2 separate regions of the Homo sapiens genome follow, and region 1 is linked to region 2. Evidence: promoter capture Hi-C in human tissues and cell types (Jung and others, 2019). All regions are on one chromosome and are shown on one strand. Each heading gives the region's core, a stretch centred on a gene start or on the middle of the fragment in contact. The rest is flanking DNA. Distances are from core to core; before and after follow the strand shown.

Evidence for each region. The method cuts DNA at HindIII sites, captures the fragments that hold promoters and counts their contacts. A contact is called where the count stands out against the background at its distance.
Region 1: a contact is called between the fragment with the promoter of OCM here and a fragment that was not itself captured in region 2, in 1 of the 25 tissues and cell types used here (mesenchymal stem cells).

The regions. Positions count from the first base shown.
Region 1 is chr7:5,879,548-5,884,585 of GRCh38, reverse strand. OCM (oncomodulin) reads right to left here and starts at 3,788. Exons shown (of 4, transcript NM_001097622.2): 1 at 3,636-3,788; 2 at 1,961-2,093; 3 at 587-696. The coding sequence starts at 3,696. The HindIII fragment of the contact is 18,194 bases long and covers 687-5,038 here.
Region 2 is chr7:5,837,650-5,842,961 of GRCh38, reverse strand. It overlaps the pseudogene ZNF815P. Among named protein-coding and RNA genes, the nearest start is that of OCM, 40 kb to the left of the region's middle. The HindIII fragment of the contact is 6,166 bases long and covers 1-5,307 here.

The DNA.
Region 1 (5,038 bases), core at 2,539-5,038, 40 kb before region 2:
AATAGTCCTACAGCTGTGCTAGTGTATTCTAAAGCTCAAACCTAGGATTCGGCCTATGGAAGACTCAATAAATGAGGTTGGCTTATTTGTTCTCTGTTTAATATTATCCCCTTGGCGGGCTAATGTCCAATAAAATATATTTGTCTAAACCCTTGAAGACGAAGAGGGCTTCCTACGCATGCCAATGGACCCTGGTCTGAGGATGTAAATCTTTCCCTTATTCTGAGGGGTTCAAACCCCACTGGTAGAAATACCTCGCGCTTTATGCAGGTGCATTATGGTTGGCAGGTGCAAATAATTGGCCAGGTGGCTAGCTAGTCCCCTAGTCAGGTGAAGGATATTTTGCAGCTCATAGACAATGACCAGTGTGACCAGCTTCTATAGTACCTACCGAGCATTATGCCAGGGTTTTTACACACATCATTTGCATCCTTACTTTAGTCCCATTTTACAGATGAGAAGACTGAGGCTCGGTAAGTTTAAGAAAGGGAGATTTTAAGCCACATTGGTTTGATCTCACAGCCCAAGCCCTCACGGATGCTTCCTGAGCTAGAGTGTTTTATGCTACGTACACGTGTGGACATACCCTCTGCTCCAATTTTCCCATCTCCATCATTATCCGCCGCAGCCATCAAGGACTTGGTTTCTGACTCGGTCAGTTCTCTGGCACCACTCTCAAACTTCTGGAGGAAAAACCTACAGGATAATAAAGATCCATGGGGATTTTCAAAAAGATCATGCATCTCTGTGTTTACACTTTTGTTTTTCCTCTAAGCATATCACCTGTTTCCAGCACCGGCAATAATTAACCAAGGTCTTAGCAAGCAAAGGTTTCCTTAAGCTGTAGAAACCAATGGTGGGCACTTCATTTTTAAGGTTTTGTTTGTTTGTTTGTTTTTGAGACAGGGTCTTGCTCTGTCACCCAGGCTGGAATGCAGTGATACCATCATGGCTCACTGCAGCCTCGACTTCCTGGGCTCAATCAATCCTCCTGCCTCAACCTCCTGAGTAGCTGGGACTACAGGTGCACCCCACCATGCCCCACTAACATTTGTATTTTTTTTTGTAGAGACAAGGTTTTGTCATGTTCCCCAGACTGGTCTGGAACCCCTGGGCTCACTCAAGCAATCCACCCACCTCAGCCTCCCAAAGGGCTGGGATTGTAGGTGTGAGCCACAGTGCCTGGCCCATTTTTAAGTTTTTAGTGTTTTTAATTTTTATTTATTTATTTATTTGAGACAGAGTCTCTCTCTGTCACCCAGGCTGGAGTGCAGCTGCACGATCTGGGCTCACTGCAACCTCTGCCTCCTGACTTCAAGCAATTCTTGTGCTTCAGTCTTCTGAGTAGCTGGAATTACAGGCGTGAGCCACTGCGCTTAGCCAAGTTTTTAGTTTTTTAAAGTCCATTTGCCAAAGGAAATCCCTTACATGAAAGAATCTTTGTGGCTGGGCACAGTGACTCACACCTGTAATCCCAGCACTTTGGGAGGCCAAGGCAGGAGGATCACTTGAAGTCAGGAGTTTGAGACCAGCCTGGCAACATAGTGAAGCCCCATCTCTACTCTAAATATGAAAATGAGCTGGATGTGGTGGCAGGCACCTGTAATCCCAGCCACTTGGGAGACTGAGGCATGAGAATCACTTGAATTTGGAAGGCGGAGGCTGCAGGGAGCTGAGATCACCCCACTGCACTCCAGCCTGGGCAACAGAGTGAGGCCCTGTCTCAAAAAAAAAAAAAAAAAAAAGAATCTTTGCACCTGCAGTCTTCTCTGCCCATATTGAGGGCTTTGCATGGGTAGATGTGCGGTCAACTGACTCATGTCCTTTGCTTTAATGATGCTTGGCCGAATGACCAACACCAAGGCTGGCCATTGAAGAAATACTGAGCAACCTGGCCCCCACTGCACCCCAGGCCCACTCAGCAGTGCCGGGTACCAGACAGACTCAGGACAAAGCTTACTTAAGCTCTTCTTCATCCAGGTACCCGCTCTGGTCGTTGTCTATGAACCGGAAAACATCCTTCACCTGATTGGCTGACATCTTGGAGAGGCCTGATGTCTGGAAGAATTTTTGGGGTTCAAAAGTGTCTGGGTCTGAAGAACAGAGAATTGGTTATTCTGACGCTTGTTGGATCACATTCTATGTTGGGGCCAAGGTACTAAAAACACAGATAATTAAAAACACTTCAACAATATCCCTGAGCTACGGGGATGCTCAACTGGTCCAAGATTTTGGGACAGCCAAGACTTGATGGCTCTGTGATGGCATCCCATGTCCCCTCCGCCCCAGTCTTCCCTCCTCCACTTGGTTTTGTCCATTTTCCTTTTCCCTCCTCATCTCTTCTGTGCCTCCCCCTCCCCCTGGCCCACTTTACAGGCTGTGTGGCTGAGCCCCCAGCATCCCTGGTCTAATTGGTAGGGGGAAATGCAATCACTGGATTTCAACAGGCTAAATGGCCTTTGGCGCTTTTTTTTTTTTTTTTTTTTTTTTTTTTTTTTTTGAGACAGAGTCTCACTCTGTCACCAGGCTGGAGTGCAGTGGCGTGATCTCGGCTCACTGCAACCTCTGCCTCCCGGGTTCAACTGATTCTCCTGCTTCAGCCTCCCAAGTAGCTGAGATTACAGGTGTGCACCCCCATGCCCAGCTCATTTTTGTATTTTTAATAGAGACAGGGTTTTGCCATGCTGGCCAGGTTGGTCTTGAACTCCTGACCTCAAGTGATGCACCGGCCTCGGCCTCCCAAAGTGTTGGGATTACAGGTGTGAGCACGACACCTGGCCTTTCAGTGATGTCTTGCTTTCATGTTTAGTAGGTTTCTTTTGTCTTACAGATGTGTAATCGTGTGCTCAGATCCCAGATCTCTATAATTTTAGTTATCTAATAAATAGCAGTTTTCTTCTCTGATTCCATGAATTTTCCAGCCAACCTCTTATTTATTTATTTATTTATTTATTTAGAGCCAGAGTCTCACTCTGTCGTCCAAGCTGGAGTGCAGTGTAGCGATCATAGCTCACCACAGCCTCAACCTCCTGGGCTTCAGTGATCCTCCTACCTTAGTTTCCAGAGTAGCTGGGACCACAGGCACATGCCACCATGCCCCGCTAGTTTTTATTTTTATTGTTATGTTGTAGAGATGGAGTCTTCCTATGTTGCCCAGGCTGGTCTCAAACTCCTGGGCTCAAACAGTCCTCTCACCTTGGCCTCCAAAAAGTGTTGGGATTACAGATGTGAGCCACCATGCCTGGTCTACTTTTTTTTTTTTTTTTTGTAGACAGAGTCTTGCTCTGTTGCCCAGGCTGGAGTGCAGTGGCATGATCTCAGCTCACTGCAACTTCTGCCTCCCGGGTTCAAGCAATTCTCTGCCTCAGCCTCCCGAGTAGCTGGGATTACAGGCACCCACCACCACGCCCGGTTAATTTTTTTGTATTTTTAGTAGAGATGGGGTTTCACCATCTTGGCCAGGCTGGTCTCGAACTCCTGACCTCGTGATCCACCCGCCTCGGCCTCCCAAAGTGCTGGGATTACAGGTGTGAGCCACTGCGTCTGGCCGCCTGGCCTACATTTTGATTTTGTGTTGACTCGCTGGAGGTGCAAAGCTGTGAGGAAATCCCACCCCCGCCTCACGTCCCCTCTACCTCGGCATTCCTGGAGCGCTGCTGCAATGTCGTCAGCACTGAGCACGTCCGTGATGCTCATTTTCTACCTACTCACACAGAATAAATGAGAGGCGATAAGCCACAAACAGGAATGTGCACATCCAGGGGAAACACATCTTCCCAGGCCCACTGAAACTGTATGTGTGTCTAGATTATTTTTTTTTTTAAATTAAGACGGAGTCTCACTCTGTCACCCAGGCTGGAGTGCAAGAGCGTGATCTCGGCTCACCGCAACCTCCGCCTCCTGGGCTCAAGTGATTCTCCTGCCTAAGCCTTCCCAGTAGCTGGGATTACAGGTGCGCACTACCATGCCTGGCTAATTTTTGTGTTTTTAGTAGAGACGGGGTTTTGCCATGTTGGCCAGGCTGGTCTTGAGCTCCTGACCTCAGGTGATCTGCCTGCCTTGGCCTCACAAAGTGCTGGGATGACAGATGCAAGCCACCGAGCCAGGCCTGTCTAGAATTTTTAAAATGTGATAAGCATGGTTTTGTATTAAGTGACGGGACAGAATATCCAAATTAAAACCAGATACGGAAAACACCCCAGCCTTTTTTGTCTCAGAGCCTTCTTTTGAATACATGCCAAAAATGGAAAAAAAAAATGACCCAAAGAAGGATTCAATTGTTTTCTTATAAAAATTATACTGACATAATCAGTCATTTGCATAGGCAGCCGTAAACCATGTTACACATGCACTGGCATTTTCCTACAGCAGCCCGAGAGATGCAATGTTGCAAATTCCACGTGGGAAAGGATACAGTTTGGGCTGCTTGCAGACATTCTGTGGAAGAAGGCATGCACCTGTCCTGAAAGGTGGGAAGCAGATGGATGAAAAGCCCATCTCCCAGAGATTAAAATCCTTCCAGGTGTCAGAGCCACCGGAAAACAGGAGTCTAAGCACCTGAGCCTAATATGAATGCATGCAGTGAAGAAAAGAGTCTGGGGTCTGATGTGTCCACCAGTTACTCACCGTTTTCGGTTTCCCCCCAGGAAGAATCAGGAAAAAGAGTTGAAGGAGCAAAACAACAGATGTGTTTTTGCTACCTTACTGACCTACCTTATATAGGCTAGAAAAAGTGATAGTTACAACCTCTTAGATTTCCTTTTCAAGGATCAAGTGGATGCAGCTCAAATGTCTTGTCTTACTCATGAAACCTCTTTTTTTTTTTTTTTCTATTTATGTCTCAAGGGAATGTGGGTGGGAACAGCCAATTGTAAAAAAAAAAAAAAAACAACAACAAACTTCAACAAACCTTAACTAAGATTTCAATTCTGCAAACGAACCCTGTTGGCAAAGTGTGGAGAAGGTTCTAGATGCCTGGTAAGGTGGAGATGGTGGCCTGAACTAAGACAAACACATACAGGGTGCTCTGTAAGCTGAA
Region 2 (5,312 bases), core at 975-3,474:
GAGCTGGGAGGGAGACAGCAGTGATTTAACCTCATCAAGTTGGCCGGGCGCAGTGGCTCACGCCTGTAATCCCAGCACTTTAGGAGGCTGAGGCGGGCGGATCACGAGGTCAGGAGATCGAGACCATCCTGGCCAACATGGTGAAACGGTATCTCTACTAAAAATACAAAAATTAGCCAGGCATGGTGGTGCGCACCTGTAGGCCCAGCTACTCGGGAGGCAGAGGTTGCAGTGAGCCGAGATCATGCCACTACACTCCAGTGTGGGCAACACTGGATTATTTATTCAAAAACAAATAAATAAAGTCATTAAGTACACTAAAGGACAGCAATGGCTTTCACCAGTTTGTGGGTGTGAAGAAGAGAGAGGCGACTAAATTATACGTGTAGAAAATATGTTTTTGAGGCATTTCACAGTAAAAGAAAACGATGAAAAGAAGAACAAATAGCACAAAATAACAGCTATTTTAACATAGGGCAGATCAATGAATCTCTGAACACAGGAGAAAACCTGTTTTATAACCACAGGGAAAATACTGAAGATTCTACAGGAAGACTTGGCAATCGAGGTCTTAGTGGGGGACAGCAGAGCAGAATCAAAGGACAAATGAAAATAGATGGTCAGGCATATGGCTCATGCCTGTAGTCCCAGCTACTTGGGAGGCTAAGGCAGGAGGATCGCTTGAGCCTAGGAGTTTGAGACCATCCTGGACGACATAGGGAGACCCCATCTCTACAAAAATGAAAAAAAAAATGAGCTCAGTGGCTCAGTGTGATGGCATGTGCCTGAAGTAGCAGCTACTAAGGAGGCTGAAGTAAGAGGATCACTTGAGCCCAGGAGTTGGAGGCTGCAGTGAGCTACCATCACTCCACTGCACTCCAGTCTGGGTGAAAAAGCAAGACAGTCTCTCAAAACAAGAAAAAAGAGGGCCAGGCGTGGTGGCTCACGCCTGTAATCCCAGCACCTTGGGAGGCAGAGGTGGGAGGGTCATCTGAGGTCAGAAGTTCAAGACCAGCCTGGCCAGCCAACATAGCAAAACCCCATCTCTACTGAAAAAAAAAAAAAAAAAAAAAAAATTTAGCCGAGCATGGTGGTGGCACGTGCTTGTAATCCCAGCTACTCAGGAGGCTGAAGCAGGAGAATCACTTCAACCTGGGAGGCGGAGGTTGCAGTGAGCCAAGATCGTACCACTGTACTCGAGCCTGGGCAACAGCCAGACTGTCTCAAAAAAAAAAAAAACAAAAAAAAGAAAAAAAAAAGAAAAAAATAGACTATGCCTTTCTCTAAAATCCAGAGACAGGAAAGGAATCGTGTAGTGATGTGTGCAGGTGGCAGGATCACTAAGGCATCTCAAGGTTTAAGGCCAAATGTCCACAGCTGCTTGCAAAGATCCAGGGTTTTTTTTTTTTTTTTTTTTTGAGATGAGTCTCGCTCTGTCACCCAGGCTGGAGCACAGTGGCACAATCTCGGCTCACTGCAACCTCTGCTTCCCAGGTTCAAGCGATTCTCCTGCCTCAGCCTCCTGAGTAGCTGCAACTACAGGTGCGTGCCACCACACCCAGCTAATTTTTAGTAGAGACGGGGTTTCACCGTGTTAGCCAGATGGTCTTGATCTCCTGACCTCATGATCCACCCACCTTGGCCTCCCAAAGTGCTGGGATTACAGGTGTGAGCGACCATGCCCAGCCAAGATCCCAAGCTTTTAAGAACAGTTGCCTGAAACAAGAGGACATCCGGCTAGGCGCCATGGGTCACGCCTGTAATCCCAGCACTTTGGGAGGCCAAGGCAGGTGGATCACCTGAGTTCAGGAGTTTGAAACCAGCCTGACCAACATGGTGAAACCCAGTCTCTACCAAAAATACAAAATAAGTCACACATGGTGGCGGGCACCTGTAATCCCTGCTACTCAGGAGGCTGAGGCAGGAGAATGGCTTGAACCTGGGAGGTGGAGGTTGCAATGAGCTGACATCGCACCACTGCACTCCAGCCTGGGCAACTGAGCGAGACTCCATCTCAAAAAACAAAACAAGACAACATCCATGGGTTCTGCTTTGCAGACTTCCAGGAGCCTCATCCCCCGGCCCCCTGCAGGCCACCTGCTCACCTGGGAAGCTCCACGTCCTTATCTCTTCCTCCTCCATCCATGGCTCCTTCCCCTGCTCCAAACTGGAGATCACAGCTGGTTTGCTGACTTGACACCCTCTTGGGGAGAAACGGTTAAAGGATTTGTGCTGAGCCAGCTGGGCCTTCCAAGCAAGCAGACAGTTCAGCCTGCAAAACAAAAGGTGGACATCTCAGCCACAGAGAGCTGTTTCGCTTGGCAGGTAACTTCACGAGGACTCCAAGTGGGATCGAGACTCTGACCACTGAAACCCAAGGCCAAGCACTTTTATTTTTCACACAGGGTCTTGCTCTGTTGCCCAGGCTGGAGTGAAGTGGCACAATCACAGCTCACTGCAGCCTCAACCTCCTGCACTCAAGTGATCCTCCCATCTCAGCCTCCCGAGTAGCTGGGACTACAGGCAGGCATCACCACCCTCAACTAATTTTTTAATGTTTTGGTAGAGATGGGGTTTTGCCATGTTGCCCAGGCAAGTCTTGAACTTGGGCCTCAAGGGATCCTTCCATTTGAGACTCGCAAGTAGCTGGGACTGCAGGCACATGCCACCATGCCTGGCTAATTTTTTATTTTTCGTTTGTATAGATCGGGTCTTGCACCTGTGGCTCAAGCAATCCTCCCACCTCGGCCTCCTGAAGTGCTGGGATCACAGGCATGAGCCACCATGCCCAGCTTAGCACTTTCAGTGCGTGAGCAGTTTCCCAGTTTTATACAACTAAGAAAAAGAGTTCATGTAACCCGAGGACCACGGGGAAGTCTTCCTCACCCACAGAGAGCAGGTGGCTGTAGTTCTCCAGCATCACATCCTGGTACAGGGTCCTCTGCTCCAGGTCCAGCTGCTGCCACTCTTTCCGGGTGAAGCCCACAGCCACGTCCCCGAATGACAGTGACCCCTGGAACAGCACATGGCTGATTAATGTGGAGTGGTTGGCACTGGGTACCATGGCAAAGGCGTAGAGGAGATTGATCTTACCCCCTTCCGAGGTCAGCTTTCCCCATATTAGGTTACATAGAAAGCTGAGCACACCCCTAACTTTGTACTACACTTTGTGGAAGAGAAAAAAAAAATTGTTAGAAAAAATATCAACCGGGTGCAGTGGCTCACGCCTGTAATCCCAGCACTTTGAGGGGCTGAGACAGGTGGATTGCTTGAGGTTAGGAGTTTGAGACCAGCGTGGCCAACATGGTGAAACCCCATCTCTACAAAAAATATATTAGATGGACGTGCTGGTGGGTGCCTGTAATCCCAGCTACCAGGGAGGCTCAGGCAGGAGAATTGCTTCAACCCAGGAGGCGTAGCTTGCAGTGAGCTGAGATCCCGCCCTTGCACCCCAGGCTGTACAACAGAGTGAGACTCCATCTCAAAAATAAATAAATAAATCTCACTACTGGATCTCCATTCATTCCTTCAATGATCAAGTGTCTTTCAGGGACCTCGCACACTGCTGGTGTTCTACCAGGCGCTTGGGGTCGAGGGCTGAACACAAAATTGTTCCTGTTCTGAAGGTAGTTAGGAGTGTTGCTGCCAGATGAACACAGGAAGACAGCTGTACCGTAAGATTACACTATAGGCGGTGGTAGACATGTAGTTACATACAGAATGGGCACGAGGAAGACAGCAGCCAGATCCAACGTACTGTCAAGTGAAGCTTCCTAGGAGATCACAGGGGAGTAGAATCACGAAAGATAAACAGAATGATCTGATGTCTGAAGGATATTCCTAGCAAGAGGCCTGGCATGGGCAAAGGAGGCACAGAAAAGTCTCGTAGAAACTACAAAGAGAATGAAAATGCCGGGTGTAAGGCGTGTGTGGGAGAGGGAGAGAGCGTACCAGCCACGGGTAGAAGTGATTTTTTTTTTCCCTGTAGGAAATGCAGACTCCCACCTCACGGTATTTACGGAGGGGAACTACAGATGATCTGATGTGGAAAAAAGGTGGGAGCCACCGGAAGGGAGGATAGCAGGAGCTAAATTATCACATGATTCTAATCCTCAATGTAAGCTAGTGCTCAAAATTAAAACAGCAAGAGAAATGCAGAGAAGGGGTTCCACAGATGCAGAACAGGGCTTGGCCTCCTTCACCCATCCCATCCCCTCTCTCAATGAATTAAAGACCCCCATTTAAACATCTTCAATTTATACCTATTAGAAAATATGAGGATGTATATAAAATATATATATAACATATAGATATTATCTATTTATATATTATATAGAGATATATATAGAGAGAAAGAGAGATTTTCTATTTTGGAGAGGGTGTTCCACTCTTGTCACGCAGGCTGGAGTGCAATGGTGCCACCTTGGCTCACCGCAACCTCTGCCTGCTGGGTTCAAGCAATTCTCTTGCCTCAGCCTCCTGAGTAGCTGGGATTACAGGCTTGTGCCACCACACCTGGCTAATTTTGTATTTTTAGTAGAGACAGGGTTTCTCCACGTTGGTCAGGCTGGTCTCGAACTCCTGACCTCAGGTGATCCACCTGTCTCAGCCTCCCAAAGTGCTGGGATTACAGGTGTGAGCCACTGCCCCTGGCCTTAGATCTTCTCTTTTTGGGACAGGGTCTCTCTCTGTCCAGGCTGGAGTGCAGTGGTGTGATCATGGCTCGCTGCAGCCTCTACCTCCTGGGTTTAAGTGATCCTCTCGCCTCAGCCTCCCGAGTAGCTGGGATTACAGGCATAGGCCAGCTGGTTTTATTTAAATTTTTTGTAGAGTTGGGGTCTCACTATGTTGTTTAATCAAAGTTTAAATAATTTGAAGGAGATCAGACAGGGTGGCTCACGTCTGTAATCCCAGCACTTTGGGAAGCCGAGGCAGGTGGATCACTTGAGGGCAAGAGTTCAAGACCAGCCTGGCCAACATGGTAAAACCCCATCTCTACTAAACATACAAAAAAAAAAAAAATTAGCTGGGCATGGTGCCAGGCACCTGTAATCCCAGCTACTCGGGAGGCAGGAGAAACACTTGAACCCAGGAGGCGGAGCTTACAGTGAGCCGAGATCGTGCCACTGCACTCCAGCCTGGGTGACAGAGCAAGAGTCTGTCTCAAAAAAAAAAAAAAAAAAAAAAAAAAAAGTATGTGAGAGTCGGGGGGCTTTCATCACTGTGGCAGAGGTCAAGGGGGGATGCTGGGTATAAAGAGCTGTGGTGGGCCCCCTGGACACATGCTGCTGGGGTGATGACGGATGTTCATA